Linked DNA regions of Homo sapiens: region 1 is linked to region 2. Evidence: promoter capture Hi-C in human tissues and cell types (Jung and others, 2019). All regions are on one chromosome and are shown on one strand. The core of a region is centred on a gene start or on the middle of the fragment in contact, and the rest is flanking DNA. Distances in the headings are between cores, read along the strand shown. Region 1 overlaps SYT16 (synaptotagmin 16). Region 2 holds the start of SNAPC1 (small nuclear RNA activating complex polypeptide 1).

Region 1 (3,721 bases), core at 334-2,833, 330 kb before region 2:
ATCATGGTTATATTCAACCACTCCCACCCAAGCAATAAATCTCCCATGCTGTCTCTTCCCTTTCCATGCCAACAATGGAGGTCACATTTTGAATATCATCACCTCAGTAAACGGGGAGTGCCTGTATGTCTGAGTTACAGCTTAGAGAACAGTCACATAACTACTTTGGACTGTAATGCAAAGGAGAAATAAGCTTTTGCTGTGTGAAGCCCCTGAGTCAGCAGGGTTTAATCATTACATCACAGCCTAGTCTATATTAATACATCTTCTATTACACATCTGCTAAGATTTTTGTCAGTAATGAAGAGTGCATTTTGCCAAAAGCAACTTTTTGCATCTATTGAGATAATCGTAATTTTTTCAAAAATTTTATTTTTTAATCAAAAGCTTCTATTTGCATCTACTGAGATTATCATAAGGCTTTCTCGTAAGCCAGTTAATATGGTAAATTACACTAGCAGATTTTGCTAATATTAAATCATTCTTGCATTCCTGAGCTAAGCCCAATTCATTGGTCATTAATGGCTTCCTTCCTTATATATTATAAAGCTAGGTGGACCCAGTATAAACTGTAGTGTGTTTATAGTATGAGGCAGTGTGAGGAAGAGGGGCAGGCAGGGACTGGGAAAAAGAGAGAGACCTTAATCTAATATCTATCTTTTACATAGCAATTTTTGTCCCTTTATATTTATTATGACTACTGATATATTTTGATTTATATTTACTGTTTGGTTTGTGCTTTCTATTTATCACACATTTTTCTACACTTTAAAAAGTATTTTCTCTGCTTTCTATTGAATTGGTTACATTTGCTTTATTCTCATTTATTCCCTCTATTGGTTTAAAAGATTAAAATTTTAATATGTTCACTTGGTTTAATGTCTAAAATTAATCAAAATCTCTACTCTCTTCTATTTTTAAATCTCTTAATTTTTTAAATAGACTTAATTTTTTAGAACTGTTTTAGTTTCTTAACAAAATTGAGCAGAAGGTACAGAGATTTCCCATAAACTCCCTGCTCCCACATACATACAGCCTGCTAATCTCTTCATTTTAATACTAGTATTTCTTTTCCTTGAAGCAACATCAGTCTAAACATCCAGCTGTCATATTTCTTACTCATAACCTGGTTTTGCAATATCCTCTGATCTCTCTCCAGTGTATTTTTTTCAATTTTAAAAAATTGTGTTAAAATATACACAACAAAATTTACCATTTTAACATATTTAAGTGTACATTTCAGTGGTATTAGATTCATAATGTTGTACAAAATCACCACCATCCATCTCCAAAACTCTTTTCATCTTGTAAAAACTGAAACTCCATATCCATTAAATGATAACTCCCCATTTCCCTCTCCTTCACCCCCTGGCAACCACCATTCTACTGGCTTTTATGATTTTTTTTTCTACTCTAAATACCTCTTATAAGTGGAATCATACAGTGTTTGTCTTTTTGTGACTGGCTTATTTCATTTAACATAATGTCCTCAAGGTTCATCCATACTGCAGCATATGTCAGAATTTTTTTCCTTTTTAAGGTTGAATAGTATTCCTTATATGTATATACCACATTTTGCTCATACATTAATCCCTCAATGGACACTTAGGCTGCTTCCACATTTTAGCTATAGTGAATAATGTTGCTATGAACATGGGTGTACAAATTTCTCAAGACCCTGCTTTCAATTCCTTGGAGTACATACCCACAAATGGATTTGCTGAGTTATATGGTGATTCTATTTTTCATCTTTTCAGGAACTGTCATACTGTTTTCCATAGGAGCTGTACCATTTTACATTCCTACCAGTAATGGACAAGGGCTCCAATTTCTCCACATTCTCATTAACACTTGTTAGTGTGTGTGTGTGTGTGTGTGTGTGTGTGTGTGTGTGTGTGTGTGTGTGTGTGTTATAGTAGCCATCCTAATGGGTATGAGGTGGTATCTCACTGTAGTTTTGATTTGCATTTTCCTGATGATTGATTTTGAGCATTTTTTCATATTTCTATTGGCCATTTATATATCAACTTTGGAGGAATGTCTACTCAAGTCTTTAATCCAGTTTTAAACTCACACTGTTTTGTTGTTGAGTTTTAGGAGTTCTCTATATATTCTGGATATTAGTTTGTTATCAGATATATAATTTGCAAATATTTTCTCCCATTCTATGGGTGGTCTGTTTACTCTATTATCTTTTGATGCACAAAATTTTTGAACTTACATGAAGTCCAGTTGTCTATTTTTAATTTTGTTGCCTATGCATTTGTTGTCATATCCAAGAAATCACTGCCAAATCCAAGGTCATAAAGTTTTTGCCCTATGTTTTCTTCAAAGAGTTTTATAGTTTTAGGTGTTATATTTAGGTCTTTCATCCATTTTGAGTTCATTTTTATATATGGTGTTAGGTAAGGATCCAACCTTCATGCTTTTGCAGGTTGAGATCCACTTTTTCTAGCACCATTGGTTGAATAGACTATCCTTTTCCCTTTGAATGGTCTCGGCAGCCTTGTCAAAAATCATTTGGAGTCACTATCCCATTCCCATATTTATGTAATTTCTGCCTAGAATTTTATTACCATTTTGTGGTAGTACCCGCAATAGTAGTCATTTTTCCTACCGCTCCTGTTTTTGCTTTAGGCAATCCATGCAGGCCTATATTTACTTACATGTTAACCAATTTATTTGTTCATTCTTCCTTCTTGCTTCCCATTACTTCCTTCTAATTTCAATTGCTTTCTTTCTGAATTGCATCATTTAGTTGCTTTTTCCTAATGAAAAACTCTGTCAAACTTTGTGGAAAATATCTTTATTTTTCCTTCACTCAGGGAACAAAATGCTAAGCTGAGTATTTTTCTCCCAATACTTTGATATTCTTTTCCCATTGTCCTCTGGTTTCCATTAATGTTGTTAAAAAGTCTGTCCTCAGTCTTACTGTGATTCCTCTATAGGTAACTGGGTTTTTTAACATCTTTATTGCAATATAATTGACATACCATGTGATATGATTTGACTGTGTCCCCAGCCAAATCTCATCTTGAATTGTGGCTCCCATACTTCCCACATGTTGTGGGAGGGACCCGGTGGGAGGTAACTGAATCATGGGGGTGGGTCTTTCCGTGCTGTTCTCATGATAGTGAATAAATCTCATGAGATCTGATGGTTTTATAAAGAGGAGGTTCCCTGCACAAGTTCTCTCTTGTATGCCACCATGTAAGACATGCCTTTTGCCTTCCTTCATGATTGTGAGGCCTCCCTAGCCACGTGGAACTGTGAGTCCACTAAACCTCTTTTACTTTATAAATTACTCAGTCTTGGGTACGTCTTTATCAGCAGCATAAAAACAGACTAATACACCATAGTAACTATCTTTTCTTTTCTATTGCTTTTAATATTTTTTAACTTTGATATCATCATGAGAATTAGAGTTGATGTAGAAAAAGGAATATCACCTATGCACTCAATAAGTTAGTGCCTCATCTAAATTTTCATATGAAATGGCCATGACTCTGAGCAGACAGTGGCTCTTAATACACTATATTTAACAAAAACTGGACCAGGATTCTAAAAGAAGGTCATATGTCTCATATATGTTCATTTTCACTGAGTCTTTTTTTCCCTGCACTCTGTAGAGCACATTTTCTGAATCCCACTTGTTCTTCACACAAAACATGAGGGAGCTTGATTTGCTTGTTTTTCTTTCCTTTAGTCTCTGCTATTGTGA
Region 2 (3,561 bases), core at 133-2,632:
GCGGACCCTGCAATCAAATGCAGCCAATTGGGTTCCATAACCTATGCCCTTAACAATCCCACACTGCCTTTTCAACTATACCATTACAACAAAATGTGGAAAGCGGTGACATAAAATAAAAACAGGGTGCTATGCGGGGAAAAAACATGAACAGCGTACTCAGTCTAGAAGAGCAAAAAAGACTTCCCCCGAGGATGTCATTTGAGCTTAACCCTGAGTGAAGAATAAGGTGGACAAAACAAGAGAGTTGCGGTGGAAACTCCAGGATTAGGAAAAGCCTGTAGAGGGCCCAAAGAAAAAAAAAAAAAAAAAAAAGCAGCTGCTGGAGCAAGAAAGTGAGTGCATGGAGGGGACTGGCAGGCGAAGCTGGAGAGATAGGCAAAGGCCAGTGAGGAATGGTCTTGGCAAGTCAGAGAATTCAAGCGTTATCCCAAAGGCAATGGGCACCACTACAGAGTAATAAGTCGGGGAGTGACATAATCAAATTTGCACTTTTGAAAAACAACTTTTGGGCCGGGCGCGGTGGCTCACTCCTGTAATCCTAGCGCTTTGGGAGGCCGAGGCGGGCGGGTCACGAGATCAGGAGTTCGAGGCCAGTCTGGCCAACATAGTAAAACCCCGTCTCTACTAAAAATACAAAAAATTAACCGGGCGTGGTGCCGGGCACCTGTAATCCCAGCTACTCCGGAGGTTGAGGCAAGAGAATCACTTGAACCTGAGAGGCGAAGGGTTGCACTGAGCCGCGAACGCGCCATTGCACTCCAGCCTGGGCGACAAAAGGAGACTCCGTCTCAAAAAAAAAAAAAAAAAAAAAAAAAAAGACAACTTTGGTTGTTGGAGGAAAAATTAATTCAATCTTGAAGGGTTTTGTCTTTGCTTGTGTGTTTTTAAACATCAGGTCCTAGAACAAGACTGGGGAAGGGCAAATGATAGTGGCCTGGCTCAGGGTGGAGATGGGAGAGAGGAGTTTAGAAGGGAGGCCAGGCAGAGACGCATATTTGGGAGGAGGCCGCAACAACCATCAGGGCACAATGAAATAGAGCAGGGAAAGCGCGTTGCCTGAGCACAGGGGAAGGTCCAGGAGTCATGGAGGCAACCTTCGGTGACTGCCGCTCTTCTCAGCCCTTCACAAGTGCAATATCGCCGGGAAGGAGGCAACTTTCTACACCACCTGCGGGCAGGGAGAGGCGGGTGGTGGACAAGAAACACCCACCAGAAGATAGTCCCGAACTTCATGTTTCTCCAGAGCTCCGTGAAGTCCTCGAAGCGTACACTGTCCGTCTCCTGGAAGCGGCTGAGCAGCGCCTCGCAGTCGGTCTGCAGGCCGGGAGGAGTCCCCATGGCACCCGAAGCCCGCACGCCTCCGAAGCCCGCACGCCTCTAACGGACTAGCCAGCGGTGGTCGCCCAGGAAACCAAGCCCGAACGGCCCGCCCCCTACGGCGTGCGCACACGCGCTCCGTGATGCATTATCCGGCACCTTTAGCTCCGCCTTTATCCGGGCTCTTGCCACCGGTCGTGTGCTTACTGCGCGTGCGTGAAAGCGTTCTGATGTTTTACTGGCTGAGATTGCTTTCACCCAGAGTGCTGAGATCCACCCTTCTTTGGAAGAGGTTTACGTCTAAAGTGTTGTGTTTGCTCACGAGCGGTTTTAGGTCTTCATTTTCCGCTAGGTTATGTAACTTGACTTTACCCTTACTAGCACTCTCCTTTAAACTGACCCTAGTGTGACATAAGTGAACTTTTGAGCTAGGAAAGAACAGTCCCAACCCCAACCCCACTCCCACTTGGGAAGAGAAGCTAAAGAAGGCTTGCTAGGAAACAAACTGCACTCATTCTCCTTCTGGTCATCGAGAACCCTAATACTCTGTACCCACATAATACGATGCTTAATGTGCGGCCCTCTCTTTGTAGCCCTGGCATTCTGCAACCACTCTTGAAAAGAAGAGCTGCATTTCATACCCTCTTGTAAACAGCCCTCCTCCTGCCCTGCCACGCATTCACCCCTGTGCTACATAGCACTTAGCAGAAAATACCTACTTGTTATATTCTTGTTATATTATTATTTGGATGAATTGCCTTTTTGTGTACACGCTGCCACCTAGCTTCCTTCCTCCAGGAGCTAGCTATGGAGTAACATTTTGAACTTTAGATCATTTCTCTGATTGAAAGGTAAGCTATCATTCTTTAGAAGAGGTATCCTGATATAATAGAAAAACATTGGGCTTTCTGTGTGTAAATGGAGTGTCAACTCACTTTACTTTTCTGATCCTTGACCTGTTTTTGTTTGTTTGTTTGTTTGTTTGGATTTGTTTGTTTTTTGTTTTGAGACGGAGTTTCGCTCTTGTTGCCCAGGCCGGAGTTCAGTGGCGCGGTCTCGGTTCACTGCAACTTCCGCCTCCCGAGTTCAAGCGATTCTCCTGCCTCAGCCTCCCGAGTAGCTGGGATTACAGGCATGCACCACTCCAACCGGATTTTGTTTTGTTTTGTTTTGTTTGTATTTTTAGTAGAGACAGGGTTTCACCATGTTGGCCAGGCTGGTCTCGAACTGCTAACCTCAGGTGATCCGCTCCCCTCGGCCTCCCAAAGTGTTGGGATTACAGACGTGAGCCACTGCACCCTGCCCTCTTGACCTGTTTTTTAAATGTTATGTAATATTTTATGTCACAGAAAAATTTATGCGATGTGTGAGATAAAAAGCATAGCAGTTAAACACCTGTACACCTTTCACCTGTGTAGGAACCAGAACATTACCAACGCCTTCACATCAATCTGCGATTTCCTCCTCTGACCTATTCCTTTGACTGTACCCTACTTTAATCACAGCTACTGGTTGGGCACGGTGGCTCACGCCTGAAATCCCAACACTTTGGGAGACAAAAGCAAGAGGATTGCTTAAGCACAAGAGTTGGAGACCAGCCTGGGAAACATGGTGAAAATTAGCCGGGCATGGTGGTGCACACCTGTAGTCCCAGCTACTCGGGAGGCTGAGGTGGGAGGATCATTTGAGCCTGGGAGATGGTGGTTACAGGAGACAGAGGTTGCAGTGGTGAGCCGAGATCGTGCCACTGCACTCCATCCTGGGCTACGGAGTGAGACCGAATCTCAAAAAATAAATAAATAACTACCTTGAATTTTGTTTCTCTTTCTCATGTATATATTTTATCACATATGTATGTATATTTAAACGGTATATTTTTTAGTTGTGGTTGGTTTTGAGTTTTATGAAAATGGTATTGCAACTGGCTGGGCGCAGTGGCTCACGCCTGTAATCCCAGCAATTTGGGAGGCTGAGGTGGGTGGATCACCAGGTCAAGAGTTCGAGACCAGCGTGACCAAAATAGTGAAACCCCGTCTCTAATAAAAACACAAAAATTAGCTAGGCGTAGTGGCGTGTGCCTGTAATCCCAGCTACTTGGGAGGCTGGGGCAGGAGAACCACTTGAACCTGGGAGGCAGAGGTTGCAGTGAGCCAAAATGCATTATTTCCCCCATGATAGAGTGGGGGAACCATTTGGGAAATGGTTCATTACAACAGATAATTTGAGAAGCACTGTTATACA

The links. The method cuts DNA at HindIII sites, captures the fragments that hold promoters and counts their contacts. A contact is called where the count stands out against the background at its distance.
Region 1: a fragment that was not itself captured here is called in contact with the fragment with the promoter of SNAPC1 in region 2 in 1 of the 25 tissues and cell types used here (dorsolateral prefrontal cortex).

Annotation. Positions count from the first base shown.
Region 1 is chr14:62,090,364-62,094,084 of GRCh38, reverse strand. The region is part of intron 7 of SYT16 (synaptotagmin 16); the gene reads right to left. Among named protein-coding and RNA genes, the nearest start is that of LINC00644, 48 kb to the left of the region's middle. The HindIII fragment of the contact is 3,249 bases long and covers 1-3,207 here.
Region 2 is chr14:61,760,241-61,763,801 of GRCh38, reverse strand. SNAPC1 (small nuclear RNA activating complex polypeptide 1) reads right to left here and starts at 1,382. Exons shown (of 10, transcript NM_003082.4): 1 at 1,214-1,382. The coding sequence starts at 1,341. RefSeq lists enhancers at 412-1,155, 1,156-1,899, 1,967-2,056, 1,900-2,643, 2,644-3,388. The HindIII fragment of the contact is 10,492 bases long and covers 1-3,561 here.